7 separate regions of the Homo sapiens genome follow, and regions 2, 3, 4, 5, 6 and 7 are each linked to region 1. The links are contacts of gene promoters, found by promoter capture Hi-C in blood cells and fetal thymus (Javierre and others, 2016). All regions are on one chromosome and are shown on one strand. Each heading gives the region's core, a stretch centred on a gene start or on the middle of the fragment in contact. The rest is flanking DNA. Distances are from core to core; before and after follow the strand shown.

Evidence for each region. The method cuts DNA at HindIII sites, captures the fragments that hold promoters and counts their contacts. A CHiCAGO score of 5 or more calls a contact.
Region 2: the fragment with the promoter of CCNE2 here is called in contact with the fragment with the promoter of PTDSS1 in region 1 in 12 of 17 cell types (total CD8 T cells, activated CD4 T cells, naive CD8 T cells and 9 more); the score reaches 12.6 in total CD8 T cells.
Region 3: a fragment that was not itself captured here is called in contact with the fragment with the promoter of PTDSS1 in region 1 in 2 of 17 cell types (megakaryocytes and M0 macrophages); the score reaches 7.7 in megakaryocytes.
Region 4: a contact is called between a fragment that was not itself captured here and the fragment with the promoter of PTDSS1 in region 1, in 4 of 17 cell types (M0 macrophages, naive B cells, M2 macrophages and 1 more). The highest score is 9.6, in M0 macrophages.
Region 5: the fragment with the promoter of TP53INP1 here is called in contact with the fragment with the promoter of PTDSS1 in region 1 in 2 of 17 cell types (total CD8 T cells and monocytes); the score reaches 6.7 in total CD8 T cells.
Region 6: a contact is called between a fragment that was not itself captured here and the fragment with the promoter of PTDSS1 in region 1, in 10 of 17 cell types (M0 macrophages, total CD4 T cells, M2 macrophages and 7 more). The highest score is 11.4, in M0 macrophages.
Region 7: a contact is called between a fragment that was not itself captured here and the fragment with the promoter of PTDSS1 in region 1, in 1 of 17 cell types (activated CD4 T cells). The highest score is 6.5, in activated CD4 T cells.

The regions. Positions count from the first base shown.
Region 1 is chr8:96,260,129-96,264,299 of GRCh38, forward strand. PTDSS1 (phosphatidylserine synthase 1) reads left to right here and starts at 1,774. Exons shown (of 13, transcript NM_014754.3): 1 at 1,774-2,091. The coding sequence starts at 1,913. MTERF3 (mitochondrial transcription termination factor 3) reads right to left here and starts at 1,482. Exons shown (of 8, transcript NM_015942.5): 1 at 1,373-1,482. RefSeq lists enhancers at 235-928, 1,080-1,139, 1,622-2,314, 2,460-2,699 and silencers at 1,303-1,627, 1,380-1,529, 1,710-2,079, 2,130-2,309. The HindIII fragment of the contact is 8,922 bases long and covers 1-3,851 here.
Region 2 is chr8:94,893,350-94,897,520 of GRCh38, forward strand. CCNE2 (cyclin E2) reads right to left here and starts at 1,852. Exons shown (of 12, transcript NM_057749.3): 1 at 1,828-1,852; 2 at 859-898; 3 at 674-770; 4 at 542-595. The coding sequence starts at 872. It also overlaps a transcript of NDUFAF6 not described here. RefSeq lists an enhancer at 664-1,225 and silencers at 1,842-2,061, 2,442-2,541, 2,672-2,721, 2,892-2,941, 3,222-3,441. The HindIII fragment of the contact is 5,265 bases long and covers 1-4,171 here.
Region 3 is chr8:97,603,505-97,607,675 of GRCh38, forward strand. No RefSeq gene overlaps it. Among named protein-coding and RNA genes, the nearest start is that of MTDH, 39 kb to the right of the region's middle. The HindIII fragment of the contact is 3,404 bases long and covers 507-3,910 here.
Region 4 is chr8:97,577,910-97,582,080 of GRCh38, forward strand. No RefSeq gene overlaps it. Among named protein-coding and RNA genes, the nearest start is that of MTDH, 64 kb to the right of the region's middle. The HindIII fragment of the contact is 4,555 bases long and covers 1-4,171 here.
Region 5 is chr8:94,947,324-94,951,494 of GRCh38, forward strand. TP53INP1 (tumor protein p53 inducible nuclear protein 1) reads right to left here and starts at 2,055. Exons shown (of 4, transcript NM_033285.4): 1 at 1,831-2,055. It also overlaps a transcript of NDUFAF6 not described here. RefSeq lists enhancers at 1,396-2,024, 2,025-2,654, 2,521-2,690, 2,861-2,910 and silencers at 1,471-1,610, 1,831-2,210, 2,291-2,400. The HindIII fragment of the contact is 4,012 bases long and covers 588-4,171 here.
Region 6 is chr8:97,553,959-97,558,129 of GRCh38, forward strand. No RefSeq gene overlaps it. Among named protein-coding and RNA genes, the nearest start is that of MTDH, 88 kb to the right of the region's middle. The HindIII fragment of the contact is 6,759 bases long and covers 1-4,171 here.
Region 7 is chr8:95,020,189-95,024,359 of GRCh38, forward strand. It overlaps a transcript of NDUFAF6 not described here. Among named protein-coding and RNA genes, the nearest start is that of NDUFAF6, 2.7 kb to the right of the region's middle. RefSeq lists an enhancer at 3,860-4,171. The HindIII fragment of the contact is 1,954 bases long and covers 946-2,899 here.

The DNA.
Region 1 (4,171 bases), core at 524-3,023:
CTCCTTACCTCAGGTGATCCACCCAGCTTCCCAAAGTGCTGGGATTACAGGCGTGAGCCACTGCGCTCGGCCCATTCTGCGATGATTTTAGAAAAGAAGTAAGTATTCACAATACCCTGCTGGGATAGGTGGTTTCTGTTAGATTTTGGTGGGAAATGGGACTCCAAATGTGCCAAGTTTTCCCTCAAACCTACAACATTCATTCTCTGCACGGTAGTCATAAGGGCACTAAATTGAAAGTCAGAAGACCTCGGTTGTGCTACCTTGACAAGGCTGTTTCTGGCAGCAGTCTAACAAAAGCAGCAGTCTAGCCCATGATGTGGGGGGTGGGGGTGGGGTCAATAACTATTCTTCAAATAATGCTTTTTTAAAAGGCTAGGGGTACAATAAGATGATTCTTAAGGCCCCTATCAGCTCTAACATTTTTTGACGTCTAAGCACTTCATCCTACTTCAAACTCCTGAAATCCCAAATTCATCCTGAAGCCTTTCCACACTCAATACCACTTAAACATCAGGAAGACTCACTTTCAAATTTCACCCCGTCATTAAAAGATCTTTGTGCATACAACTAATGTTTATCCTTGCATTTTTATTTACAAGTGCACTATCTTCTCCACATCCTTTCATTGCTGCCTACACATCTTAACAATTGATTAACTGTTCATGCACGAGAGCAGAGCTGGGTCTCATCCCTGGATCCATCCTTCCGGGGACTATTCTCCACTTTCCCAGAGCCTTGTACTGCTCTAATGTTTGCGGAATGGAAATAAATCAATGGCAAGTACAGTTAACTCACTTGCTTACACAGTATGCAAAAGCGGGTAGGGGATGTGCAGATGTGTATAAAAGCCCTGTAAGGTGGTAACCTGAAGTCTTCTAACAAGGTCCTTTCATCAGGAAAATTACAGAAAACCCTTAAAGAAACTGAAGTCTCTTAACAATTCATATATACTGTTCTCAATGAGTGCCTAGTGCTTCGCTAGAAAAAGGCACTGAAATAGAGTTCAAGATTTCTACCTACGAAATGCTATAAATGAAATCAGGAGAGAAAGGGAGGTTATGGGGGCAGCTTCCTAATAAAGGGTCTCTCAATACTTCCCAGGCCATTTTAGCCCACTTCAGTTCCCCAAACTTGCGCAGGAAGGCAGAGCCCCCTCCTGAGGCTTCTCACACTGCGCTAATTAGCCAGCATGGTTGAGTTTTCACTACATCAGCCAGGGAAAAACACAAAACAAAACCAATCACCCTCTACTGGGCCGCGAAAACCTAAAGGCCCTTGAGGCCCTGGGGCGCGGTCTGGACGCGGGTGCGCCGGAACCTGAACCCTCGCCAGGAGCGCGATCCTCGTGCTGGGGCAGCTCCTGCTTTACCTGTGGCGAGGCCTGCTTCCCGTAGCGGGTGACCCCGGGACCGACCAACTCGCTGGGCCGCACGTCCCGTCCCGCCGCGCCGCACGCCGGCTCCTCAGCCCGCCCTACACAGCGCAGCCGCGCTCCCGGGCCCACGTGGGCCGCGCCCGGAGTGGGCGAGACCATGTGCCGGGTTACGCGGGGAGACAGCGGGCTACGTGCTCTGAAAAGAGCCAGCCAGGGGCCCCGGCTACCCTTCTCCGGCTCGCTATTCCTCTGAAGTCCTGTGGACTTGGAGTCTGAAAATTCCTCGAGTGGTAGAGATGCCTCAGCTAGGATGACAGCGTGGGGACGGCCGGCGGCGTCCCCTGCCCCAGGCCGCGGTGGCGGCGCCGCGACCCCGCCCTCTCGCGCCTGTCCTTCCCTCTGCTCCCAGCCTTTGCTGGGCGCCAGACCCGGCTTTGCCGTCCGGCTATTAGCCTACTGTGGCTAGTCACCCCCGGGGTCCCGGCCTTCTCGGGCTGGGGCCGCCGCCACCGCGGCAGGACGGGGAGGCGGGCCATGGCGTCCTGCGTGGGGAGCCGGACCCTAAGCAAGGATGATGTGAACTACAAAATGCATTTCCGGATGATCAACGAGCAGCAAGTGGAGGACATCACCATTGACTTCTTCTACCGGCCGCATACCATCACCCTGCTCAGCTTCACCATCGTCAGCCTCATGTACTTCGCCTTTACCAGGTGGGGCGGCCCAGCCGAGCGGGGGGCGCGTCCAAGGGCTAGGGAAGAGGCGGGAGGGAGGGTGGCGGGGAGGGGGGCCCGGCATGGCTCTGGGTGAGGAAGTGGGCTGGCTGCTCCACGCACACGCACTGGCAGCCCGCCGCCCACGCGGCCCCTCCGCCCGCCCGGTGTCTCACAGTACGCTAGCCTGCTCCCCTACCCCTCAGTGCCCCTTCTCCATACAGCGCCTCCGGTTACACGGGGAACGCACGCGAGTCACCTAGCACGATCGCCCCCTCACCCACCGCACTCAGCATCGCTCCACACAACATCACGACGCGGGCCCCTCCTCTGCACTGCTCCAGCCTTCGTCCCTACCCAGCACACCGCATGAATCATGTCGTATGCACCACTTTCAGCACACACCGCTACACATACAAAGCACCCCAATCCACAGCGCCTGCAGGCACCATACACAGGCCCAGGACACAACCTAGATCCCTTCCTGTGGAACTCCGGTATTCGGCACTATCCGTAACGCACAAAAAATGCACATGTGTGCTGCATACACGGTCTTTCCTGTGCAGCACTTCCCGTATGCATTGCACACAAGTCATCCAGCATAACACTTCCCCCAGCCTCAAACACTACCATCTGTACCACGGCACAAACTGCCACTCTAAACACACACCTCACAGCGGACCTTTCCTTTCCAGCACAGCCCAATACCCATCATCTGTGTACATGGCTGCACAGACACCAGCCCGCCACACATCACGCGGTGCATACCCTGCTCACTCATTACCTAACATACGTGCTGAAATGTGATCTTGTCCAGCAATTTTAATGGTGCCTGGGGTATAGTAACTGCTGTGTGTTAAATGAAACACATAAACCTCACACAGCATAACACAACTCTCTTATTCCCTGGAAAACATACACACACATTCTAATATATACCGGTTCATAGGAGCTGCCCAGCCCAAATCTTGAACACACCTCATGTTAACTCTGGCACTGCGCCTGTGGCTCCTCATTCCTAACCTAGAGAACTAATTCATCCTTGGTTCATAAGGAGGTACACACCGTGGTTCCTACTTAGAATGATTTATACTTTCTGAATGAACCTCTTTAAAGAAAGGGAAGTCACACCTCTCTCACCATTATGGCTTAAAAGGCCAACTTAGAGTAGAGTAGTTTTTGAGCCACACTTTTGGTTTCAAAACTGGCTGTGTGTCCTTAATTAAGTTGCATAACCTTGCTCTGAGCCTCAGGGGCCACACTCGTAAAATGGGGATGAAATATCTACTTATATAGGGTTATGAAAATTAAATGAATGTGTGTGAATGCATTTAGCAGAGTCCCTGGAGCACAATGTACAATTCATGTCAGTTACTTCTCTCCCAGTATTTTTATCCAACAATCAAGGTTCTCTGTCAGGGTCAGCAGAACATGTGTAGGGATATATATATTGGGTAGTCACAAGGATTGAGAGAACTTCTAGTATTTGGGAGGGGGAGCAGTTAACGGATACTAAATGTATTGTGACATATGTGACAGCGCTGTACAACATAAAGGGAATTGTCTTCTACACAGTCGTTTGCATACACACACACAAGTGCCGGTGGTGCCTCCCTTAGGAATAACTGCAGTTTTTCAAATCCTCATAAAACTAATATCCTCCCACATCACACTTGTTCCTTACCTCTGGGATTCATTTGACTCTTGGTTCTTGTTATGTAAGTGTTTATCCATTTGAAAGAATCTACCTAAAGGTATAAAGCTTAAGTAACAATTGCTTACTCTTTAATGATTGAGGGATCTTGCCACTATTACTATAAAATCTGCTAAAGCTGTGCAGCAGGTGAAGACCAGACCTTTCCACAGTACCTGACCAGACATATTTCTAGCTTTGGAGAGAAATGAATCATGTCCCTAACTATGGTTACTTTCAAATACTTCATTATGTTGCCTGATTTTATCACTTAATAGCTGTGTGGCCACATAATTTTGCTAGGCCTCAGTTTCCTTATCTGTATGTAAAATGAAAATATCAATACATTAATCTGTCGGGATTATTTGTCATGAGGATTAAATTCAT
Region 2 (4,171 bases), core at 602-3,101, 1.4 Mb before region 1:
AAAAAAGTGTGCTCTGATACTTTTGAATATTTGAAAGCAAAACCTTAAAAATGGAATCGATTACTTAAACGATTCTTTTCCCAATAATGCTGGTTTCAAACGCAATCACTATCTCCAAAGTGCTGCTTTCTGTAAAACACATAGGAAGAAGAGGTACCAAAGGGCTGCGTGCCAGGCTGTCAGTGATCTCACATCCTATTTATGCCCAAGAAGCAGCTATTAGGACCGTCTACTAGAGTCTGCGAGGGAACAAAGAGCAGTATATTGGACAGATTAGGCGGGCCCTGGTGCACCAGGCAGTTCCAAGAGGGAGGGATTTACAAAAAGGAACCAGCTGCTTGAAGGCACTTATTCTGCAGCTGTAGTAGGATTCGGGCACATAGAAACCACCCAAAGATAGGCGCCTTCCTGCTGACCTCTAGGGGCATTAAAAGTAAAAGTGTCAGAGGAATCTATCGCAAAGCAATAAACACATAATTCTATTCTTATTCATCTATCCTCCATTTTTCCCCCAAACCCACCCAGCCCAGTTCTGCATTACCCTAATTTCATACTGATGTTTCTTGGTGACCTCCTCTCTTCTTTTTTTGACATCCTGGAAAATAGAAAAGACCATTGGTAAACTAAAGTCCCAGCATGGAATTTCGTTCCTCCCTCTTTCTCCTTAAATCACCTGGGTAGTTTTCCTCTTCTTGGCCTGGATTATCTGGGCTTCTTGGGGGGATTCCGTCTGGCTGGGCTGGGGCTGCTGCTTAGCTTGTAAACGGCTACTGTAGTGAATTTTTAAAAAGGAAGTGTAATTAGTAAGTTAAAGGCAGCAACTAATTTGAAACATGTCTCTAAGACAGATAATGTTACCTTCGTCTTGACATTCTCTTCTTTCAGGTGTATAAAACCTCTGAAGGGGGGAGAGGAAAAGCCGCAGTCAAGTACATTGTCATTCACATTCTCCAAGTGCCAGTAAGACGCTGATTCGCAGGTGAAAGCTCAGTCCCTCCGAAGGGGGCCTGGGCCCTGTGACCCTGCCATCTTCTGTGCTATGTTAGCTAGCTCATGGTAATTCATTTTGGATACAAGCCTGCATTTCCTCAACTGAATGTACAGCTGGAACGCGAGTGTCCAAAAATTTACCAAGCACTCCTGACACCTTGAACGCGCAGGGAGGCACATCTTCCTCAAACGGGTTTTTCTGGGTCCTCCACCCTCTCCCCCGTACACCGGGAGTGGGGCTTGGGCAGCGCCCCCACGTCCCGCCTCCCTCCTGGACCAGCGGGGAGAGGGGGTTGTGGAGGCGAAATGCTGTGGAGAAGCCGGTTCCGCGCCAATTTGGAGAGCGGCGGTGGCGGGGAAGCAGGGGGCGGAGGAACCAAGACTGGTGTCACGGCCTCCAGTCTCCTTTCCCTCCTTCCCGGCCCTGCCGCCCTACCGCCGCTCGGAGGGGCGCCGGGACCCCAACTCCAGATGGGAAGCGGAGGGCGTGGGGGAGGGCAGGAAAAGGAGCTAAAGAAAGGGGAGACTGGGCTGGCTGGGAACTTTTCTCCCCATGGAGGGGACCCGGCCTCCCATCCTCTCTCCCACGGGATAGCTCCCCAAATGAGGGTGGGATAGAGAAGCCCCTAGAATGAGGGGCGGCTCTCCATGCCCAGCCGCTTCCCGGTCCCCTGCCAAGGTTCCTGACAGGGACGGAACGCGGGAACCCATGACCCCCAGTCGTCTAGTTCTCAGCCCTCCCGATTTTCCTCCCTGAGGCTCCCGCCTGTGGTAAGTGATCGGCCCAACTGGGCTTTCTTTCCTCCCACATCCCCCCTACGCGCAGCAACTCCTCACCGCCAGACCAGCTACCGCTCGGCTCAGCTGGCGCCGGCGCCAACCCAATATATAGGCCGGGCCGGTCCCGCCCCGCACGCATGCGCCTCAGACTGACACCTCCGGACAGCGCGCTCCCCTCTCCCGCCCGTCCGCCCGCGTGCCCGCGCGCCGCGCCCTGCTCTCAGTGCGCGCCCGCCACCCGGAGCGGCCGTGGGGTCCACTCTACCGGGCCTTCTGCCCGCGTCCACCGCGCTCCACGGCGCGGCCGGCGGCGGTAGGGAAACTCTCAGGGGCTCCTTCTCCGCGGCTGTTCTCCCCGCCGCCTGGCTCGCGCATCTCCCGCCAGTTTGCTTTTGCTTCCTCCCACTGCAACTCCTGGATTTCGGGGGTGTCAGCCTGCGGCTCAGCCCGGGCGCATAACAGGGGGACACGACTCGGGCGACCATAGGGTGGCTGGGAAGTGACCGTCCAGGGGCGCGCCCTAGCTGTCCCGCCAAGGCCTCAGGGAACCCAGGTCTTTCCTGAGCGACGCGGGGACCCGAGGGCCCGCCCCTCGGGGAGGAGCAAAGCGTTGGCTGAAGAGCTGGCCAATGGGAGGCACGGGCGGCAGCACAACGTGGAGTGGCTGCAGAATGTAAACACCACTCAGCCACGCGCCTGGCCAAGTGCGGCTCTGCTCTCCCCAGTCCCGGTCCGCGACCACCCGGAGCCCGCTCCGCCGGCCTTGCGCGGCGCGCCCAGGGAAGGCATTTCCAGCCCGCCCACCCAGGTATGTATCAACCCTGCTTTCCGGCTCCCTGCTCCCCCTACCGGGTTTCCCTCCCCATGGGTCGGTCGCTCCCCCAACCCGCCGCTCTGCCCCTGCAGTGGCCTCCAGCTGCCACCCCGCAGTCCCCGCGCAGGAAACGCTCGCGCCACGCCGCGCCCTCCCTTGCTTCCTCTCTTCTCCACCTCCAATTCCGGGATCCCAGAGGGTAAAACCCCTCTCCGGAGCGGGGCCCGGGAACGGCATTCCTCCTCCCCCTGAGCGCGGTGGTCCCCGGGGACCTGGCCGGGTGGGAAGAAAGATCGCCACCACGTGCAGGCCCCGGGCCCGCCTGCCGCGCCCCGCCCCGCCGCCGCCGCCAGCGCGCCCTGCGGAGCCCGCGCGAGCCGGCAGCGCGGGAGGGCGCCGTTCGCGCCCGAGCGCTGTTGGGAGGAGGGGGGCCCGACGCTCTTCCTTTATCCTTCCCCGGGTGTTTAAACTTAGGGGTCCCTTCGCTGCCTCTATGAATGCCCCCACAACTGGCGCACCCCAAAACTGCACATCGTCAAGTCAGACTTGCGGCGGGTATTCCGCAAACAGGTTTTGCGGCGGGAGCAGCGAGGCGGGGAACAGCTCCGGGAACAAAGATCCCCCGGGTGGAGGAGCAGTGCGAAGGCGTCTCGGAACCCGCGGTAGCTCGGGCGGGCCGCGTCTGCCCAGGCCCTGAGCGAGCCGGACGGCGAGCGGGCCGCGCCGGGGAGACGGAGCCTCGCGGGCGGGAGCCCTTCCCGAGATGCACCGGGAGGCGGCGCCCGGCGACCCCCGCTCCCGCCCGGCCTTTTGTGCTGCGCCGCTCGAGCGCGCTTGAGGCCCGGGAAATAGCCGCCGCCGGATGGGCGCTTTGGGGCGGGCGAAGTCCTTTTTCACACTTTTTCGATTCTTCGTCTCGTGACGCCGGCAAAATAATTCTCTCCCTAATTTACCTGTAGGAGCTTTGCCCAAGGTGACAGCATCAGGAGAAGCCCATGCCTTGTCAGTCCCAAGAAACTTTCTGCCATTTCTAACGCTTAGGATGGCTCTCGGCGGGGCAGAAGTTGCCTCCCTTTTGCAGTCACTCAAAACGCAGTTAGCGGTATAGCTAGCTTAAAGGTCTAACAGCATGATGTCAAGAAAAGGGGTCAGGGGTCTCCCAACAAGGGTCACCTGATCGTAAGCAGAACTGGTGGCCCTCGTGGTTGAATTTGATAAAATATACTGAAAACCAGTATGTCGAGTAACGTTTGTGGGAATCATCTTTGAATGATGAATGTATGCTCAGTACTGAGTTAACTAGTAAATTGATTTTAAAAGACACTGCTCTTATAAATGTTCTTTCCATACCCTTGACTATTATGTGAACAGAATGCAATCATAGTAAAGGAGAAATTAGAAAATTCCAAGACGTCTTTGTGTGGAAAGGAATAGAGTGAATTCTCCCATATTACAGATACCTGGTCAATAGACAAGTGGGTCTGTTAAAAAAAGAGAAAATAAAGGGTAGGGGGCGGGTATGTTTGTTTTTAGCTTGCTCTTTTCCTACTTATCCGTTTTAAAATTCACCTAAAGTATATTTCCCCT
Region 3 (4,171 bases), core at 959-3,458, 1.3 Mb after region 1:
TCAGACAACGAAGGGGCTACCACAGACCACAGGATCATGTCAAAAGGGCTCAGGTGCCAACCTAAAGAGAGCCCCACTGGCAAGAGATGAAACAATTCAAGCATAAATATGAATAATAATAGCAAGAGCTTGAAATATTTCCAATATGTTTACTTTATGAGTTTGCAAAGGCAGTACAGCAAAATATAGCCTAATTGATCACTGTTGCAGGATACTAATGAGCCAGCTTATTATTTTGAAAGCTGATAAAGAGAAAGAATCAAGCATTTATCCTGCCTTCCTATACAAACTATTCCACTGTGTAAACAAATTGTATTCAGCTAGAAAATGAAGAATGAGTGACAGAATTAGAATGTCACCATTCTGCAATCCCTAATGAATTAATGGACCTAGGCATTAACCGTCAATGGCTGCTAGTATCACAGAGAGACAATCACACCTATGGATGGAAGGACTATATAACCTATGAAGTGGTCTCGCTGAAAACTCAAACTTGAAGCTGACAAAGCTTCAAGATCTAACTACCAGGTCACAAGAACCTTAGGAGACAAAGGAACATGCTACACACTATGGGGGTGCAATTAGCAAAATCCACATGACAATGTCATGACATGACAATCTTCGACAATTAAATTGCAAGGGGAAAAAACAAAGAAAGGGTGAGAACAATTATGGATTAAGCCAGACTTAGGAGACACATCAACAATCACAATGTGTGGACATTAATTGCATCCTGAGTCAAACAAGTAAATCAGTTTTTTAAATTATGATCTTTGAGACAATTAGAAACTTGAACAGTGGCTTTAAAAAAAATTTTACCTCTCCCTCTCCCGCTCCCGCTCCCGCTCCCGCTCCCGCTCCCTCTCCCTCTCCCTCTCCAGGGTCTCCCTCTGATGCCGAGCCGAGGCTGGACTGTACTGCCGCCATCTCGGCTCACTGCAGCCTCCCTGCCTGATTCTCCTGCCTCAGCCTGCCCAGTGCCTGGGATTGCAGGCGCGCGCCGCCATGCCTGACTGGTTTTTGTATTTTTTGGTGGAGACAGGGTTTCGCCGTGTTGGCCGGGCTGGTCTCCAGCTCCTGACTGCGAGTGATCTGCCCGCCTCGGCCTCCCGAGGTGCCGGGATTGCAGACGGAGTGTCGCTCACTCAGTGCTCAATGTTGCCCAGGCTGGAGTGCAGTGGCGTGATCTCGGCTCGCTACAACCTCCACCTCCCAGCCGCCTGCCTTGGCTTCCCAAAGTGCCGAAATTGCAGCCTCTGCCCGGCCACCACCCCGTCTGGGAAGTGAGGAGCATCTCTGCCTGGCCGCCCATCGTCTGGGATGTGAGGAGCCCCTCTGCCTGGCCGCCCAGTCTGGGAAGTGAGGAGCGCTTCTTCCCGGCCACCATCCCGTCTAGGAAGTGAGGAGCATCTCTGCCTGGCAGCCCATCGTCTGGGATGTGAGGAGCCCCTCTGCCCGGCCGCCCAGTCTGGGAAGTGAGGAGCGCCTCTTCCCGGCCGCCATCCCGTCTAGGAAGTGAGGAGCGTCTCTGCCCGACCGCCCATCGTCTGAGATGTGAGAAGCGCCTCTGCCCGGCCGCGACCCCCTCTGGGAACTGAGGAGTGTCTCTGCCCGACCGCCACCCCGTCTGGGAGGTGAGGAGCGTCTCTGCCCAGCAGCCGCCCCGTCTGGGAAGTGAGGAGCGTCTCCACCCGGCAGCCACCCGGTCCAGAAGGTAGGGGGCAGCCCCCGCCCGGCCAGCTGCCCCGTCCGGGAGGGAGGTGGGAGGCAGCCCCCTCCCCACCAGCCGCCCCGTCTGGGAGGTGGGGGGCGCCTCTGCCCGGCCGCCCCATCTGGGAAGTGAGGAGCCTCTCTGCCCGGCCGCCACCCCGTCTGGGAGGTGTACCCAACAGCTCATTGAGAACGGGCCATGATGACGATGGCGGTTTTGTCGAATAGAAAAGAGGGAAATGTGGGGAAAAGAAAGAGAGATCAGATTGTTACTGTGTCTGTGTAGAAAGAAGTAGACATGGGAGACTCCATTTTGTTCTGTACTAAGAAAAACTCTTCTGCCTTGGAAAAAAAAAAAAGATTTTAATTTTTTTTCTTGAGACAGGGTCTGTCTCTGTCGCCCAGGCCAAAGTGCAATGGCGAGACCTCGGCTTACTGCAACCTCCACATCCCAGACTCAAGTGATCCTCCCAACTCAGCCTCCCGAGTAGCTGGGAACAGAGGTGCGCATCACCACTCCCGGCTAATTTTTTTTGTATTTTTGTTAGAGACAGGGTTTCATCATGTTGCCCAGGCTGGTGTCAAACTCCTGAGCTCAAGCAATCTGTCCACAGTGGCCTCCCAAAGTGCTGGGATTACAGGTGTGAGCCACGGTGGTGGCCTTTAGGAATTTTTATTAATGTTAATATGTGATAATGGCATTATGGTTATTTTACAACATGAGGCTTTTTTATCTCTCAAAAACATATACTAGGGCTGGGCGCAGTGGCTCACGCTTGTAATCCCAGCACTTTGGGAGGCCGAGGCGGGTGGATTGCTTGTGGTCAGGAGTTCGAGACCAGCCTGACCAACATAGTGAAACCCTGTCTCTACTAAAAGTACAAAAATTAGCCAGGCATGGTGGCAGGCACCTGTAATCTCAGCTACTCAGGAGGCTGAGGCAGGAGGCAGAGGTTGCAGTGAGCCAAGAGCGGCGCCATTGCACTCCAGCCTGGGTGACAGAGTGAGACTCCATCTCAAAAAAATAAATTTTATATATATATATATATATATATACTGAAATATTTATGAGTAAAATTATATGAAATCTGAAATTTGCTTCAAATGGGTAAAGAGTGAGAAATAAGATGAAATAAGATGGTTCATGAACTAATAATCATTGAAGCTGGAAGACCAGTACATGGCAGTTTATTGTACTTTTCTCTTTACTTTTATATACATTAGAAACTTCCCTTAATTTTTAAAAATCTATATTGCAGATTAAAAAACAGCTACAATTTATTGAACAATTAACATAAATCATCATTTTTTTATCTTCACAACACAGTAGTACCTACTGTGAGGTAGGTACTATTACCATAATCTCCATTTTAGAGGTAAGGAAACTGAGGCTTGGAGAGGTTAATTAATGTATCAAAGATCATGTAGCAAAAGACTCAAATCCACATACTAAGTAACCATTGTCTCATAAGTGGGTTTTCTGGAGACTGCATAATGATGCCAAGCCATGTGTCTAGGTTTGCATGAAATGAGAACAGAAGGTGTCCTTGGGGACAGCTGGCATCTGGGTTTCAGCCATTCAAAAACTTTGGCTGGGCATGGTGGCTCACGCCTGTAATCCCAGCACTTTGGGAGGCCGAGGCGGGCAGATCACCTGAGGTCAGGAGTTCGTGACCAGCCTGACCAACATGGTGAAACCCTATTTTTACTAAAAATACAAAAAATATTAGCCGGGCATGGTGGTGCATGCCTTAATCCCAGCTACTCGGGAGGCTGACACAGGAGAATTGCTTGAGGCCGGGAGGTAGAGGTTGCAGTGAGCCAAGATCGCGCCACTGCACTCCAGCCTGGGCAGTGGACAGAGCGAAACTCTGTCTCAAAACAATAAAAATTAAAAAAAACTCTCCAAAATACATAACAAAAATAATTGGGAAAACAATAGCATGTCCAAGCCATGCCAAGGAAAATGTATCACTACTTCTATTCATAGTAAAAAGCCTATTTCAACACTTTACCAAAAAAAGTATTACTGAGCCTTTCAAGGAATGAAAAAGCAGGCAATATACTTGGAGACAGGCAAAAAGACATATGGTCCTCAAGGGAATATGAGTTTGAATGGAAAAATTTGAACAATGGAGAACAGCTTGCCTCTTACTTCCCCTGATGTATGAAGTTTGGTCCATTTCCAATAGCAATCAGAAGCTTCTGGCAGTGGCCCAGCTGGCCTGCCTGTAAGACCATCTGGGAGAAAGGGAAGTGTCCACCACACACTGGTCAGGCTGACACCAGCACTGAACTGTTTGTTCATTTCTGCAGTACCTGCGGAGCTACTATATAAGGCTGGAGTAGTGACATCAACTTCAAATCATCCACGACTCCAAATAAATTAACTTGTCTGATCAAGATATTAAAGGGGACTTTTGGCCAGCCACCGTGGCTCACACCTGTAATCCCAGCATTT
Region 4 (4,171 bases), core at 834-3,333, 1.3 Mb after region 1:
CAAGTGGAGTCAATATTTTTGTCATTTATCTCACTTTTGAAAAAATAAATGTCTGAACATTTCTTTCATGAATGCATTTTACACTCAGCAATTTTTTTAAATCACGTTCTTTAAGTAATCTTCATAGATAATTATAACAGATATTTGGAGCCTCATCTTTTCAAACCTCCTCTAAGATTGGATTCTAGAATTGGAAAGTTGTAGCACATCACAAGAAGTCAATGACAACACATTTCCCAATGTGTGTCTGAGTGAAAGAGAGAGAGAGAAAGAGACAGAGAACATGTGTGTCTGATGTTTCCCTGTGATTAAATCCAGGTTCTGTGTCATCTTTATCAGGAATATCATGGAAGTGATGCTGAGTTCTTCTCGATGCATTCCATCAGAATCTATTATTGGTGATGTTAACTTCTATCACTTGATTAAGGTGGTATCTACCAGACTTCTCCAGTGTAAATTTACACTTCTCCCCTCTGTAATTAATACATATTTTGTAGGGAGGTACTTTGAGAACATATAGACATCCTGTTCCTCACCAATCTTTCAAGTTAGTCATTTACTTATTTACGTCATATTGAATCATGGTTCTATTTTATTCAGTGGATTTTAATCCATTCCTATCAAGCTGGCTTCTGCATCCTTTGGCACAACAAGATATTTCAGGCTCATCCTGTGCTTCCCTACTCAAACCCTGTATCAGCCACTTCTCCAAGGGGTCCTGGATCCTTTTAGTGGAGAATGGTACTTAAAAATCAAGACCTCAGTGCTAGATTTGCTCATTGCTCTTGATGTGTACTACACTCAGGCCCTCAAAAGGAGCAAAGCTAGGGAGCATACATATGCACACGCATACACACACACACGTACACACACACACACACACATATCTATATTGATTCCCATATCTACCCATCTGTGTATACTGAAAACTATGAACTCACGGTAATATCTCCAATTCCAAACTCTAACAGTAGAGAGCTCATCAGTTTTCTCCCTTTCCATATTTTCACTTCCTTCTGTGACAGTGAGAAACTTTGCTCCTACTCTCCTCCATATCTTGACATATTGGAGCACTACTATATGTAATATCCCACCTTGTAGGCCCTGACACCCCCCTGCCAGGTTGCCCTCCCCTAGGCAGGCCCCTCTCACCCTATTCGGACTCCCACACCCAGCACCAGGCTGCTGATTCCCCTCATCTAAAGCCCTCCTCACCCCACCTGGCCTCTGATGCCACATGCTGGGCTACCATAGGAATGTGCATCCCACCTTGCTTGGTATCTGACACCCGTGCCAGGCCCCCATCAGCCCCTCGTGTGCATGCCTTTCTCACTCTGCATGGCTCCAACACCCCGCCCTGGTCTTCCTCCCTGCATGCCTCCGCACCTGAACTTGTTCAGACACTGATACCCTACCTTTTGTCACTGACCTGCCCAACCCCATCTAATAATGGCTTTTGAAATGGATTGTTCTGGAAGGAAACAGAAGGGAAAACAGATAAGAAAAAAGAATAGGACAACATTCTTCTTTAAATGCTAACTATGATTTCAAAGCTGTTTTTGAAAAATATTCTGTAAAAAGTGGTATGTCCCTTTTAAGTAAAGCTGTTTATAAAAGTTGTGTATTATTTAGGGACAACTCAAACAAACGAAATGCTATCATTTAAATTTAGGAACATGGAAGCAATATATAAGAAACTCAAGATGCAATAGTGGCTGAGAACAGAAATGTTTCCCTTTTTAGGTTATGTAGAAATTGGATTCTTTTTGTTCAGGAGAAAGGAGGTTTTGTTGTCATCAGAGTGAATGTGGGGTTGATCATCTGCAGTCTCTCTTTCTGCTTTGAAGAGAATACAGGGGAATCAGGGAAGGTGGCAGCCTCCCAAGACAGTAAGGAGGCTAGGAGGATACACTTAGGTTTACCTTTTATTAGCTTGGCTAATGCCACATGCAAATGAGGCATCCAGGCAGCTGGGAGAAGTGGAGGTGCCCAAAACTGGCCTGAAGTCCCAAAGTGTGTTCCTTCTTCAGGAGAGTCCTGACTCCAAGATAAGACTTTGAAGTGAATTATAAAGATTAGGACTGGTAGGCTGCGTGTGGTGGCTCATGCCTGTAATCCCAGAGCTTTGGGAAGTCAACACAGACAGACCACCTGAGCTCAAGAGTTCAACACCGGTCTGGGCAACATAGCAATACTCCGTCTCTACAAAAAATACAAAAATTAGCCAGGCACGGTGGTATGCACCTGTAGTCCCAGCTACTCAGGAGGCTGAGATGGGAGGATGGCTTGAACCCTGGAGGCAGAGGTTGCAGTGAGCCGAGATTGTACCATTGCACTCCAGCCTGGGTGACAGAGCGAGACCCTGTATCAAAAAATAAATAAATAAATAAAGAGTAGGACTAGCTATTTTATCAGGGTTACTTTACATCAGAACTGATAAAATATTAAAGACTGAATCCAACTATTAGGAAAGTTACCAAATTATACTATGGTGTTTCTTTTTTTTATGCTAGATATACGTTTAAATTTCTGCTTTCAGCCATGATAGACTAGATTACACCCAACCAACTCTTCTACCAGGAACAACTAGAAAAGTTGGATAAAATACAAAAGTCATTTGTTTAAAAGCATCAGAAAACTACAAAAATAGCCAGGAATTAAGAGCTCAAGATCCTGACTTTGAGTTCCCCCTGAAGCAGATCCCCAGGGAAGGATTTGAACATAAGGAGGTGATGTCAGGAAGCATTATTAGGGAAGTGAGGAAGAGAAACAAGAAAGATAAGACAGCCAAAAAAAGCTGGTTCTTAAACAAACTGCCACTGTGAGTAACTGGAGCTTGAGTCCACTGGGGAAATCAAGGAGACCTTTTTCCTCAGAGTTATCCCACCCAAAGGGCAAGGGGATCTGCGGCATTTATGATCCAATTGCATTTTATTGGGTCTTCTTGACCATGATAGCAAAACTAGATAATGATACTGCAAAAAAGAAAAATTGTAGGCCATTCTCTCTTATGAACATAGATGCAAAAATCTGAAACAAAATATGAGCCAATCAAATATGGCTATATGCTATATATCCCATCGAGACTGGGCTTATTCCAAGAACACAAGACTGGCCAGGCAAGGTGGCTGACGCCTGTAATCCCAATAATTTGGGAGGCTGAGGTGGGTGGATCACTTGAGCCCAGGACTTCAAGACTAGCCTGGGCAAAATAGCGATACTCTGTCTCTACAAATAATACAAAAATCAGCCAGGCATGGTGGTACGTGCCTGTAGTCCCAGCTACTCAGGACACTAAGGTGGGAGGATGGTTTGAGCCTGGGAGGCAGAGGCTGCAGTGAGCCGAGATCGCACCACTGCACTCCAGCCTGGGCAACAAAGCGATACCCTGTCTCAAAAACTAAAATAAAATAAAATTTAATTTAAAAATATATTTTTAAAAAAACAAAAGTGGAGCAAAAGGCTAATTTATACTTAAAAATCAATCAATGTGATTTTACCATATGAATAAAATAAAGGAGAAAATTATATGATCATCTACATAAGATGGTATTTAATATTCAGTGTGGATATTTATTAAATATTTCTCTCTTCTTCTGAGACAGGGTCTCACTCTGTCACCCAGGCTGGGGTACAGTGGTGTGATCTCGGCTCACTGCAGCCAGGACCCTTCAGGCTCAAGAGATCCTCCCATTTCAGCCTCCTGAATAGCTGGGACTACAGGCACATGCCACCACACCTAGTTATTTTTATTTTTTAAAAGAACAATATGTGTTCATTTCCACTCAGCTAATTGCATGGCTTATTTTAAATATAATAGGTAAAATGACCAGGGTACAAAAGTAGCACACATTAATTATAAAATCAAGTTTTAAGGGGCTTGGGTGGCCAGGTGTGGTGGCTCACACACACCTGTAAGCTCAGGAGTTCAAGACCAGCCTGGGCAACATGGCAAAACCTCATCTCTACAAAAAATACAAAAATTAGCCAGGCATCGTGGTGGGTACCTGTAATCCCAGATACTCAGTAGCCTGAGGTAGGAGGATCACTTGAGCCCAGGGAAGTCAAGGCTGCAGTGAGCCGAGATCGTGCCACTGCACTCCAGCCTGGATGACAGAGTGAGACCCTGTCTCAAAATAAATAAATAAATAAAAGGTTTGGGGGGACCTCT
Region 5 (4,171 bases), core at 805-3,304, 1.3 Mb before region 1:
TCTAAATCTGTGTACAGTTGTGGCTCCTTCACAGTTTCAGGAAATCAGGTGGCTAAACGTACCGTCATTGAAAAGCAGCTTCAGAATTATCCTTCTTTTTATCCCACCCTCTTCCACTACTTTAAAAACGTGCAGATTCTAGTAATTTAAAATGGGTTTTGAACTGGAGAAAAACCAAGCCAAGAAAGTTATCTCTGCTTGTTCCACTTATATGAAGACTAGATTCAAGTAATTTAAAATGGATTTTGAACTGCAGAAAAAACCAAGCCAAAAAAGTTGTCTTTGCTTGTTCCACTTATGTGAAGACTGTTCAACTAGTGTGCAAGGGAGGTTATTCCCCCAGGGATCCACCCCTGTCTGCCCCTAAGGCTGAAAGACAGTGGACAAAGACAAGAGTAAGTGGTAATTCATAGCCTGATAATCTTGAATTTTGAAAGCAGACATCAGAGGAAGCAATGGCAGGAAAGAACAAAAGATAGGATGAGAAAACAAGACCTTGGTCACAGAAATTAGTAAGGTCCTGGTTCCAGGCAGGGGCCTTTTAAAATTATGCTGCCAGTTCAGAATTACACTGATTGCGACTTAAAAGCTTCCCAGTGCTTTTCACATCTGCAAATGAAAATGTATTTCAATTACCAGGCTGGTGATTTCAGTATCGTGGGGGAACTCATTATGACTTCTGTTCAGTGACCCCAAGGGTCACATTGTTCCCCCTTTTCCCAAAACTATTGTGCATTGAGAAAAGGCTTTTTTAGCAATAGATGCCCAAGTCCTTGGGAGTCACAGTTGTAAAGAGGCTCTTCCTTAATCCACTCTGTATTGGAATTAACCTACTGAGCAGATATAATCAGAAAATACAAGCAAAACAGACTCTCCAGGTAAAATTCAGCTGCCACTTTGAAATACAAACACCATTTCCTTTTATTAATTGGCTGTGTGGCCTTGAGCAACTTAATCTCTCTGTGCCTCGGGTTTCCTATGTGTAAGATAGCCGGGCCTATTTCATATAAGGTTATTATGAGAATCAACTGGGGCGATAAAGCAAAGCCCCCAGCATAGTATATGGCACATACTCAGCGCTCAGTAAGCGTGAGCGATCCAAAGGATCTAAATGTTAAGGGCCAAGGAGAGCGCTCTTTCCACAGGTGCAAAGTCAGGTAGCGAAGACTGAGTTCAAGCCAGGTCAAGCAAGGGACAGGCCGCGGACAGGCGGGGGCCGGTGGCCGGGTCACGGAGCAGGTTCCCCATAGCCGCAGGGCCTCCGGAACTCGGAGGGCAGGCGCAGGGGACGGGATCGCAGGGCGGGGACAGAGCGCCGGGCCACAAGCCCAAGCGCCGCTGTCTTCGGAGATGCGTCCCGGGGGTGGCCGCGGGAGCCCCGACGCCGAGTCCCGAAGGGGCGGCCCCATCCAACGGCCGAGAGCAGGCGGAGGAGGAGGAGTGGAGGGGAGTGAGGAGGGGTGAGAGGAGGAGGTCCCGCCGCGGCCAAGAAAACAAGCCACGCTCGGGGGAGGAGGCAGAGACCAAACTCCCAACCGCCGCCCAGCGCCGGGGCCAGGCCGGGCCCTTGTCCGCGCCGCCGCCGCCTCTGTCAGCCTCTGTCCGCGCCCTGGGCCCCGGGGGCCGCCGAGGACCGACCCACTGGGTGGGCGGCCGGGCCCGGCGGCGGCGAGGGGAGGCAGCGAGGGGGCTCGGTGAACGCGCAACCGGCGCCCCGAAGGCAGGGCGCGCGGCCGGCCCCGCCGGGCTCAGGAGCGGGCAGCGCTGCGGCCCCAACCGGCAGCGAGGCGGCCCTGGACGGACGCCCGCCCGCCCCCCCCCGGCACTTACGTGGGCCCGGGCCGTGCGGGGCTGCGCGGGGAAGGGAGCGGCCGCCGGCTCGGCGGGGAAGGACGCGGGCGGGGCGGGACTGCTGAGGTAGCTGCGGTGGGGCCGGGCTGCGCTGCACCTCGTTCAGGTACCCAGACGGCAGGCGCGGGGCCGGCTCCAGCCCTCGGGTCGCTGCGCCCAGGCCGGCCAGTCCAAGTCCTTTTGTTGTTGTGCAGCGCTCGCAACAGCTGATCGGCCGCTCCGCTCGCCGTCGGGCCCCGCTGCCCCGCCCCGGGCCGCGCCAGGCCGGGCCCCACCAATCGGCGGTGCGGGGGCCCCGGGGCCGCCCTGCGAGAGGTTGTCACCAACGCACGTGACCTGGCGCCCGGCCGGCGGCGCGCTCAGCTCCGAAACAAGCCCGGGCAACAAAAACCGGGAGCTGAGCGTGAAGGCCTGGGCGAGCGGAAGGGTGGGAGAGAGGGGCTAGGCCGGGGAGGGAAGCGCTGGGGCCGGGGCCGGCTTTCCAGGAGCCGGCGGGAGCGGGGTGCGTAAGAGGCGGGCGAGGAAGAACCGGCGGGCAACGGGAAGGGCAGAGGTGGATCTCTCCCTCAGCGACCCCTCTCGCCGAGTGAAGGGTCGAGGGTTTGGGGCACAAAGGGCGCAGAACGTTTTTTCCTGTGAGAGGAACATTAAGACTCCTGGGAGGGCTGGGGCTAACGCCTCCGAGAGCCCCACCTGGTCAGCCTAGGGTTAGACGTGTAGCCAGGGTGCTGGGAGGGGGCCGCTGCTGGGCCCCAGATAGAGGGGTAGAGGCCGCTCAATCACGGAGCCAGGCCCCACCTGCTGTAGAAACCGCCACCGAGAGCCGGCCGGGCTTGCTGCACGCTCTGGATTCCGCCTGCCTATAGGCGAGGCACAAGGGACTGCGAGACCAGGCCTGAAGGCAGAGAGGTCAGCAGGCTCGGGGGCCTCTGCTCCAGCGGACAACAAGCGCACCGGGCGGGAACGGCCGCCTCCCCAGGCGCTGCAGCCTAGCTCTCATGTGACCCACGGAACTTAGCCCCTCTGTTCTGTTTGCATACCTGCAAATTGTGGGCATTCACGCCGGGACTGCCAACTCACCAGGTTATTTATAGTGACAAGAGAGTGAGACAGTGGGCTTGAAAGTGTTTTCCAGACCAAGGCTCTGTCCCACATATAGGTGGATTAACTGTCTGGCAAAGGCAGGTGAGTAACGTTGATGCCTATCAGCTCTCATGTGGATACTGTTTGGACTGGGATGTAGTTCTTTGACCTGGGGTGAGCTGTATAGCAACCCTGGAGGGATGCCTATCACACATTACAGTATCTGAAAGACACTCACATTCTGACCCTCACAATGTAGTCAGTCCATTTCCAACAATGCTGGTTTTAAAGGATGTAAATTGCAGTGCAGGGAGTTGTCAGACACCAAGGAGTAATGATCAAAATATGATGGTCATTGGACCTTATCTTGGGAGAAAGAGCTAAAACTGTGTTCTAGATAGTCTCACAGACTTGAACATGCTTTGGATTTTAGGTTTTTGCAAATCAGGCTTGTTCTAATATTTTCTCCCACATGCTATGGTAGGAGCCCCATGATCTCTTGTTTCTCCCTAGGAATCCATTGAAGAGGCCATCTCCACATTCAGAACCAAGGTATGATGACAATTACAAGGGGCTAATTTTTAAAAAGAAAAAGGCCTACCTTTTTCCAGTTTGATAAGGTTTATCATGGTTAAAGCAACATGTGAAATCATCATCTTGTTATGATAGAAAAATTCAATATGAAGTAGATCATTTTTCCAAAGATGACCACAACAGTATCTCCATCATGAAGTGGGTGTATTTTTCTTCCCTTTGAATCTGGGCTGACCCTGTGATTGCTCTGACCAATAGAATGTGGCAGAAAGAATGTTCTAGGACTTCCAAGCCTCGTCATTAAGCAAAAGCATTAAGCAAACCCCACAGCTTCTGCTTTGTACTCTGGAAAATGCCAGCCACCCATGAGGAGAGACCACCCTGCTAGCCACAGGGAGAGGCTATGTGAAAAGAAAGAGATGCCTGGCCAGCTCTAGCTCTTCAGCTCATCCCAGCTGAGCTACCAGACACATGAGTGGAAAAGCCCTTAGGAAGTTCCAGCTCCAGCAGACACCATACTGAACAGAGGAGAGATAAGCCATCCCCACGGAGCACTGCCAAAATGACGGCATTGTGAACAAATAAATGATCATTGTTTTAAGGCACTAAATGTTGGGGTAGTTTTTAAAGCAGCGATAACCAAAACACAAAGCTAACAGAAATGCCCATCACAGATCAGTGACTCTAAACTCTACCAAATAGT
Region 6 (4,171 bases), core at 680-3,179, 1.3 Mb after region 1:
GGTTGGCTGGAGGATCTGCCTAAAGCAACATGGACAGTCACGATGCAGAAAGGAATCAGCTGTTTCTCCTAACTCAACACCTTTGAGTGGGGTTTTTTCTGAATTAGGCTACATTCTCAACCTCAACACTATTGACTTTGAGGACAGGCTCATTCTTGGTTATTACATAGAGGACAGTGCAGGCTGTCCTGTGCATTAGAGGATGTTTGGCAGCATCCGTGGCCTCTACCCACTACATGCCATGGCACCCTGCCCTCAGTTGTGACAACCGAAAATATCTCGAGACATTGTCAACTTCCCCTCCTTCCCACCTGGAGGGAGGATGGGGAAAGCTGGGTAGGGGGAATGGCCCCCTGCTGAGAATCACTTCTTGAGCCCCAGCTTCTCTTCCTTTTAACCCCTGACATATATACAAACCATCACTCTCATTGTGTGCAAACAAGCAGCAATGACAAGGACAAACAACTAGAAGTTAAAGACCCTGGCCGGGCACAGTGGCTCACGCCTGTAATCCCAGCACTTTAGGAGGTCGAGGTGGGCAGATCACCTGAGGTCAGGAGCTCGAGACCAGCCTGGTCAACATGGTGAAACCCAGTCTCTACTAATAATACAAAAATTAGCCGGGCATGGTGGCACATGCCTGTAATCCCAGCTACTAGGGAGGCTGAGGCAAGAGAATCGCTTGAACCCAGGAGGCAGAGGTTGCAGTGAGCCAAGATGGCGCCATTGCACTCCAGCCTGGGCGACAAGAGTGAAACTCCGTCTCTAAAAAAAAAAAAAGAAGTTAAAGACCCTGTTTCCCTGTGCCACATCCTGGAGCCTCCTGGCCTTGGTTTCATCAACTGCAAATATAAATATATATCATTACTTTTATTTTGAAAGACTGTTGTGTGTTTAGTTAACAAACACTTACTAAGCCCCTACTATGTGTAAGGCAGTGTACTGATGACTCCATGAGGAACAGTTTCAAGTCTGAAAATGAGATTACTACACAGAGCATGATGCACTATACAGACGTGCTTCTATAGGAAAATTAATAATGAATCATTGGGAGATAGTACTTTAAGAAAGACAACATTGACCAGGTGCAGTGGCTCACACCTGTAATCCCAGCACTTTGGGAGGCTGAGGTGAAAGGACCACTTGAGCCCAGGAGGTCAAGGTTGAAGTGAGCTATGAGTGCCACTGCACTCCAGCCTGGGTGACGGAACAAGACTCTGTCTTCAAAAAAAAAAAAGAAGAAAGAAAGACTGAATACAGGCCCAGAACCTCTTACTCACATTTCTGAAATCCAAAAAATTCTGAGAACCTATTTTTCTTTTAATGTATTTGGCATCAAAATTTATTTGGTGGCAAAGCCTGACCTGAGGTGAATGACACCACCAACAGTCGTCATTGGTCCTGCTGAGTGTGACTATTCATGTTTTTCTACACAAATATTAATGTGTTTGGTGAAAAGGTGCTTGCTCAGGCTGTGCTGGGGGTGTTACATAATATATAACATGTGCACTGTTTTGCCTTTCTGAAACCCAAAATAATCTGAATTCCAAAACGTATATGGCCCTGAGGGTTTTGGATAAGGTATTGTGGACCAGAATATGTAAATTCTCAGGGAATTGAGCAAAACTGGAGCTAACACCTTCACACTATAAGCATTCATTATTCCTCATTTGCATCTTGTACCGTGCCCAGCAAACTGTGAGCTTACGAGATAAATAGGGAAAGATGGGAGTGTGAGTTTGCATGTAGGGCATGTGGATTTTGTCCCTTCAATAGCACAGGTAGCCTCTGTCCAAAGAAACCAGTCACTGTTTACATCCATCTCCCAGAAAGGAAAGAAGAGAAACTTAATCAGAGATGTGGCCCAGTCCCTCTCTGTAGCCCCAGGTACTGGAAGCAGCCCTCCTGCTGGAAATGACACTTCTCTCCAGTTCCAGCGAGCAGGAACCCACTTCAACTCACCCGGTTTGCACGTTCTGTTCTCCAACTTTCTTCATGCCCATTCAGCCCAGCAGGCTCAGACGGAGAGGAACGGCTCCTGCATCCTTGGGTCTAGTCTCCGCCAAGTTGGCGGTGGAGGCAGAGGAAGGCGTGGTGCTCTTACCCTGTTGTTTAATGTGCAGAAGATTTTATGGGAGCCATGGATTAATCGGCTCAAAAAATACGAAGAGATATTTATGGTAAGTTCAAGTTTCACAACCACTCAAGAGGTTTTTCACTTCAAAGGATTTTAGTTCAAACCAGAGCTCGATGTCTCATTACCACAAACTTCGATCTTTTGGCCTTCAAAGGTCTTGTCTCCTTGACTCAATTCTTCACTTCAATTTATTTGTTTGAAAATATATACTGAACCTGTATCACGTGCCAAGTGCTGTGCTGGGTGATGGAAATATACACACAAATAAGACATGGCCCCTGCCTGGGAAAAGTCATGGTCCAATAAGGGAGACACTGTTGGACAACAGGCTGTCTCCAATCACTTTATGAGCAAAAGCTACTTTTCTTTTACCTAAGTTTGTGGCTGAAAGCAGAGGTCAGGGCAGGACGTGATGGCTCACGCCTGTAATCCCAGCATTTTGGAAGGCTGAGGCAGGTGGATTACTTGAGTCCAGGAGTTGAAGACTGGCCTGGCCAACATGGTGAAACCCCCTCTCTACTAAAAATTCAAAACAAATTAGCCAGGTGTGGTGGCTCGTGCCTGTAATCCCAGCTACATGAGGCTGAGGCAGGAGAATCGCTTGAACCCGAGAGGTGGAGGTTGCAGTGAATGGAGATCATGCCACTGAGAGGTGACAACATGCTAGCAGCCCTCGCTCGCTCTGGGCGCCTCCTTGGCCTCGGCGTCCACTCTGGCCGCGCTTGAGGAGCCCTTCAGCCCGCCGCTGCACTGTAGGAGCCCCTCTCTGGGCAGGCTGAGGCCGGAGCCAGCTCCCTCTGCTTGCAGGCCGGTGTAGAGGGAGAGGAGTGGGCGGGAACCGGAGCTGCGCAGGGCGCTAGCGGGCCAGCGCGAGTTCCGGGTGGGCGCGGGATCCGCAGGCCCCACACTCACAGCGGCCCGCCAGCGCTGCTGGCCGCGGGCAGTAAGGGGCTTAGCACCCGGGCCAGCAGCTGCAGAGGGTGCGCCAGGTCCCCCAGTACTGCCCGCCCGCCCGCGCCGCGCTTGAATTCTCGCCGGGCCTCAGCCGCCTCCGCAGGGCAGGGCTCGGCACCTGCAGCCGGACATGCGCGAGCCACCCCTCCTCCCCGGCAATTGGCTCCTGCGCTGCCCTAGCCTCCCGGACACACACCGCCCCTGCTCGGCGGCGCCCGGTCCCATCAACCGCCCAAGGGCCATCTCTGTAAAATGAACCAATCAGCTCTCTGTAAAATGGACCAATCGGCTCTCTGTAAAATGGACCAATCAGCAGGATGTGGGGGGGCGTGGGACGGGGGTGAGTGGTCAGATAAGAGAATAAAAGCAGGCTGTCCTAGCCAGTAGCGGCAACCCACTTGGGTCCCTTTCCACACTGTAGAGACTTTGTTCTTTCACTCTTTGCAATAAATCTTGCAGCTGCTCAGTTTTTGGGTCTGCACTGCCTTTATGAGCTGTAACACCACAAAGGTCTGCAGCTTCACTCCTGAGGCCAGCGAGACCCCTAACCCACGGGGAGGAATGAACAACTCCAGAAGCAACACTCACCGCGAAGGTCTGCAGCTTCACTCCTGAAGCCAGCGAGACCATGAACCCACCAGAATGAAGAAACTCTGAACACGTCCGACCATCAGAAGGAACAAACTCCGGACACACCACCTTTAAGAACTGTTAACACTCACTGCGAGGTTCTGCGGCTTCATTCTTGAAGTCAGTGAGACCAAGAACCCACCAATTCCAGACACACCACCACACTCCAGCCTGGACAACAGAGCAAAACTCTGTCTCAGAGAAAAAAAAGCAGAGGTCAGCAAATGGACCTGCAAGCCAGCTGCATGTTCTTTTTTTTTTTTTTTTTTTTTTTGAGACAGAGTCTCACTCTGTCACCCAGGTTGGAGTGCGGTGGCATGATATGGTCTCGGCTCACTGCAACCTCTGCCTCCCAAGTTCAAGTGATTCTCCCGCCTCAGCCTCCTGAGTAGCTGGGATTACAGGCGCGTGCCACCACACCGGGCTAATTTTGTATTTTTAGCAGACATG
Region 7 (4,171 bases), core at 673-3,172, 1.2 Mb before region 1:
AACTTTGTCTCAAAAAAACAAAGGTAATTGAGGATAAGTAAACTACCCAAAAAGCATGATGCATTCAAGTTCCTCTTTTTCATAGCTGCTGATAATAGGTTCCTTAAAATCAGATAACTGTAAGGCTTGACTATTAAACGAATAGTGGAAACCCTTCACAAGGGGAAATATTCCTTTCAACTTTGTATTTTCTTCATATTCTGCCCTTCTTAAACTTGCTGAGTCTGATTTGCTCTTTCAGTCACTAAGACTGCAAGCCTGTATGGTGCCTTGTTATAAATGAGAAGGTCCCCATCTGGGCTGAGGCAGCCCTGCAGGCACATGCCTCTCTGTGTGAAGAGAAAGGCTACCCTTCCTCTGAGCAGAGACAATGCCACACCAGCCCACACCAGCCCCTCTTGCTCCCTTAGCCAGGCATGTTTGTGCAGTGCACACACTGCATAACCTGGTGTCTTATTTCCGGTGCCAAAAAACTTGGCCTTCAGAACGATACACTAACACCTCCCAATGCCAGGCACTTGGCCAGGCACTGGAGATAAAAAGAGGAGTAAGAAAACATCTACCTTTGGCAGTCTGGGAAGAGGGCCATATAAGCAGATCACCACAGTAAGACCTGGCAAAGTGATCAAACATGAACACAAATTGTTATAGGATCAAAACTGGGGGAACAACTCTTTTTTTCTTGGATGGGGTTATGGTCAAGGAAAATTCAGGAAGGAAGAGGTGTTTAATTAGGTGTTTGGGGGATGAGTAGAGGTTCATGAAAGGGAAAAAGGGCATTAGAACTTTTGTGGTGACAAGGACAAACTTAGAGCTCTCCTCCTATAACCCCAAATCTCAGGAAAGCCTTGGGTTGCGGCTTACTTTGATTTAGGTCTTGAATCACACCATTTTTGTTGGGTTTGTCTTTCTACATGTCTTTTTGCCTTTGAAGTGATCCAGACAAGCTTAGCAGTGGGGTTTGTAAAAACAGTGTAATAAACATTGCCCATTTGCCAGGACTGTCCTCTGTGTAGCTCTCTTGGGAGTCTGTAGAGGCCGTAGGTGGCTGGTTAAAGGCTGGGGATTTGGGATTATCACCAAATGGCCTCCTTGAAGATACAGCACACAAGGACAATCCAGAAAGAGGGAACAGCATAATCCCACAATATTTTGTTTGCCAAATGGAAATCTCTTTAGTGACAAACATTTAACTTAGCACCAGGTGTGACCTTCAGTTATGCAATAGAATTGTGGATCAGCTAGGATGAAATTTCTTATTTCCCTAGAAGAATGTTTTGTCCAGAAACACTATCCCAAGGCAACAGACTATATTTCCAACTCTGTGAGCCTTTTCCCTTCTTGGCACGTGCTACTGGTTGCTAGACGAATCAGGAGGCAGTATGTGCATAGAACAGCTCCTCACAAGTCACTGTCATTCTAAGAAAAAAACTCAGTATGTGTCCTTTTGGCAGGAAGTCAGAAACATGTTCTCTGGACCATTAAGGGACAGCATCTTTTGTTATAAATGTGTTATATTTGTTCTTTGACCTTTATCTATATCCTTTATAATAAACCAGTAAATATATATAAGTGTTTCCCTGATATCTGGGAGCCATCATAGCAAATTATCAAACCTGAGGAGGAAGGTCCTGAAAATCCTTGATTTGTAGCCAAGTCAAACAAAAGCATGGGTAACCTAAGGACTCACTAATTGCTACTGGTGTCCAAAGTAGGGGGCAGCCTTGTGAGACTGAACTCTGAACCTGTGGATTCTGTCCTAACTGTGTAGTCCTGAAAATGCTTGGTGTGGAAGATCTATACATGTAGTGTCAGAAGGGTTGCATAAGTATAGAAAAATTGTTTTTCCTTTTTAGTAGTGGTTCATCTAAAAAGTATTTAATTGTGGAAAATATAAGGATTGAATAAGGGCATAGTTAATGTGTTATATCTGTTGATAAGATGAACTATAATGCTGTAATTAAAAATGTTTATGAAGGTTCAATATAATAAAAATACCAGTTTTCCATACATTAGGTATAAATTTAACATAGCTGTAATGAAAATACCTTCAGAATTATTTTAATCGAATGGCTGATCCTAAAAGCCAAATGGGAAAATAAACAAGAATGGCCAGGAAGACCGGGGAAGAGAAAAAGAGTAATGAAGAAGGACTAGCCCTACTAGATATCTATGAAAACATATTTTAAAGACGCAATAGTTAAAAGAGTTTACTACTAGAACATTAATAGACAAATGGAACACTATAGACACAAAGTATATGCATGAGTTTATTCTGTGAAAAAGGAAGCATCTCAAATCAAAGGAGGAAAAGGTGGACTACTGAATAAATGATAGTAAGACAACTACTAGATATAAAGAAAAAAGTTAGATTCATACCTTCCTAATCTTTACCCCTCCAAAAAAAAAAAAAAGAAATGTAAAAAAGTGAAATCTACAAGTAGTACGAGAGAAACCAGAAGGACTAGAAGAAAGCAAGGGATTCTTTTAACACATTTAAAATGGGGAAGGCCTTTTTAAAGACTGCAAAATCCAGAAGCCATAAAAGTAAATATTGTAAATTTGACTAGATAAAAATATATTGCAAAATTTCTGCATGGCAAAGATTCCACAAGCAAAGACAAAACTAAAACCTAACTGAGGAAAATAATAATGATCTATATTACAGACAAAGGACTAATCCCCCTCACGTGTCATGGCAGCTAGCTTCCCACAGAGTAAGTGATGAGAGAGAGAGAGAGAGCACCCAAGATGAAATATGGAAGGTGCAGACCTTTTATAACCTAATCGCAGGAGTGACATTGGGTTTTTCTTTCGAATTTTTCTGATTTGTTTCCCTGTGGTGTCGATTTATCTTGTTTCTTGTCTTTTTCTTATAAACTTTAAAATTAGATTTAGAAGCTTAATTAACTTTATGTTAAGCCTTTTTGCCAAGAATATTTCATATGTAGTATATTGAATTTTATGTTTCCTTTTATTAGTGAAGCAACTTTCCCAGAAGCACCACAGTGGACTTGTTCTCAAGTCTAATTGGCCAGATCAGGGAAATATGCACTGTCCTGGACCAGTCACTGGTGATGAAAGGGTAACACCCACCACCGGGGTTCTGCTACTACACAGGATGAAGAAAGGTAATTTCAGAGAGTAAAAACCAAAGTTGCATGAATTGGTTAGAGTTCTTAGGGCCAGAGGACAAGGTGCTTTACCTTGGGTTTAAACAAAAACATTAACTTGGAGTCACAAAGGCAAGTGGCCAGAGTTGAGGCAGAAAGGTAAATTGAGGCCACATCATGGACGGACTGCATATAACACACAGTAAATGCTGTCAAGTAGGGAAACGCCATGATCAGATGGACATTTTAGAAAGAACCAGTCTGGCCATAGCAAGAAAAGTCTAGGCAAATCTGGAGGCAAGAGGGATTCAAGTGTAGGCAGCTGCTGGCTGGGATCAGCTAGTTGGTAGCAGCTAGACCCACCTCTAATATTTGAGGGCCCTGAAAGTAAGAGTACCAAAGGAAGCCAACATACCATGTGAACAAATATTCAAAGTTAATCCCAGCACTATGGGAGACTGAGGTGGGCGGATCATGAGGTCAGATCGAGACCATCCTGGCCAACATGGTGAAACCTCATCTCTACTAAAAAGACAAAAATTAGCTGGACGTGGTGGCGTGCACCTGTAGTCCCAGCTACTCGGGAGGCTGAGGCGGGAGAATCGCTTGAACCCGGGAGGCGGAGGTTGCAGTGAGCCAAGATCAAGCCACAGCACTCCAGCCTGGCAACAGAGTGAGACTCTGTCTCAAAAAAAAAAAAAAAAGTTATAAATCAAGTTAGTAAACTGTTAAAAGCTCTGTCTTCCTGCCTTGATAAATACATCTTCCTAAGGACCTGAAAGGTCAGGTTTACATTGAAAATTTTGACTCCTTGGAGTTCCATGCTGGACCTTGGAGGCCCAGACAAGCAGGCTCTGGCCTATGGCCGTCTTCACTTCCTTTCCCTGTCCAAATAAGATTGTGGAATAACACAGATATTTTGAATGTTTGGATCTTACCCGACTACTTACTATTTATGTGAACTGAGGCACTTCAGCTTCTACAATTTTCAAGTGACAGCCATTGGGGTAAAGCAGGAAACAAAATAATGGCACTGCCCGTATGGAACCCAGAGGATA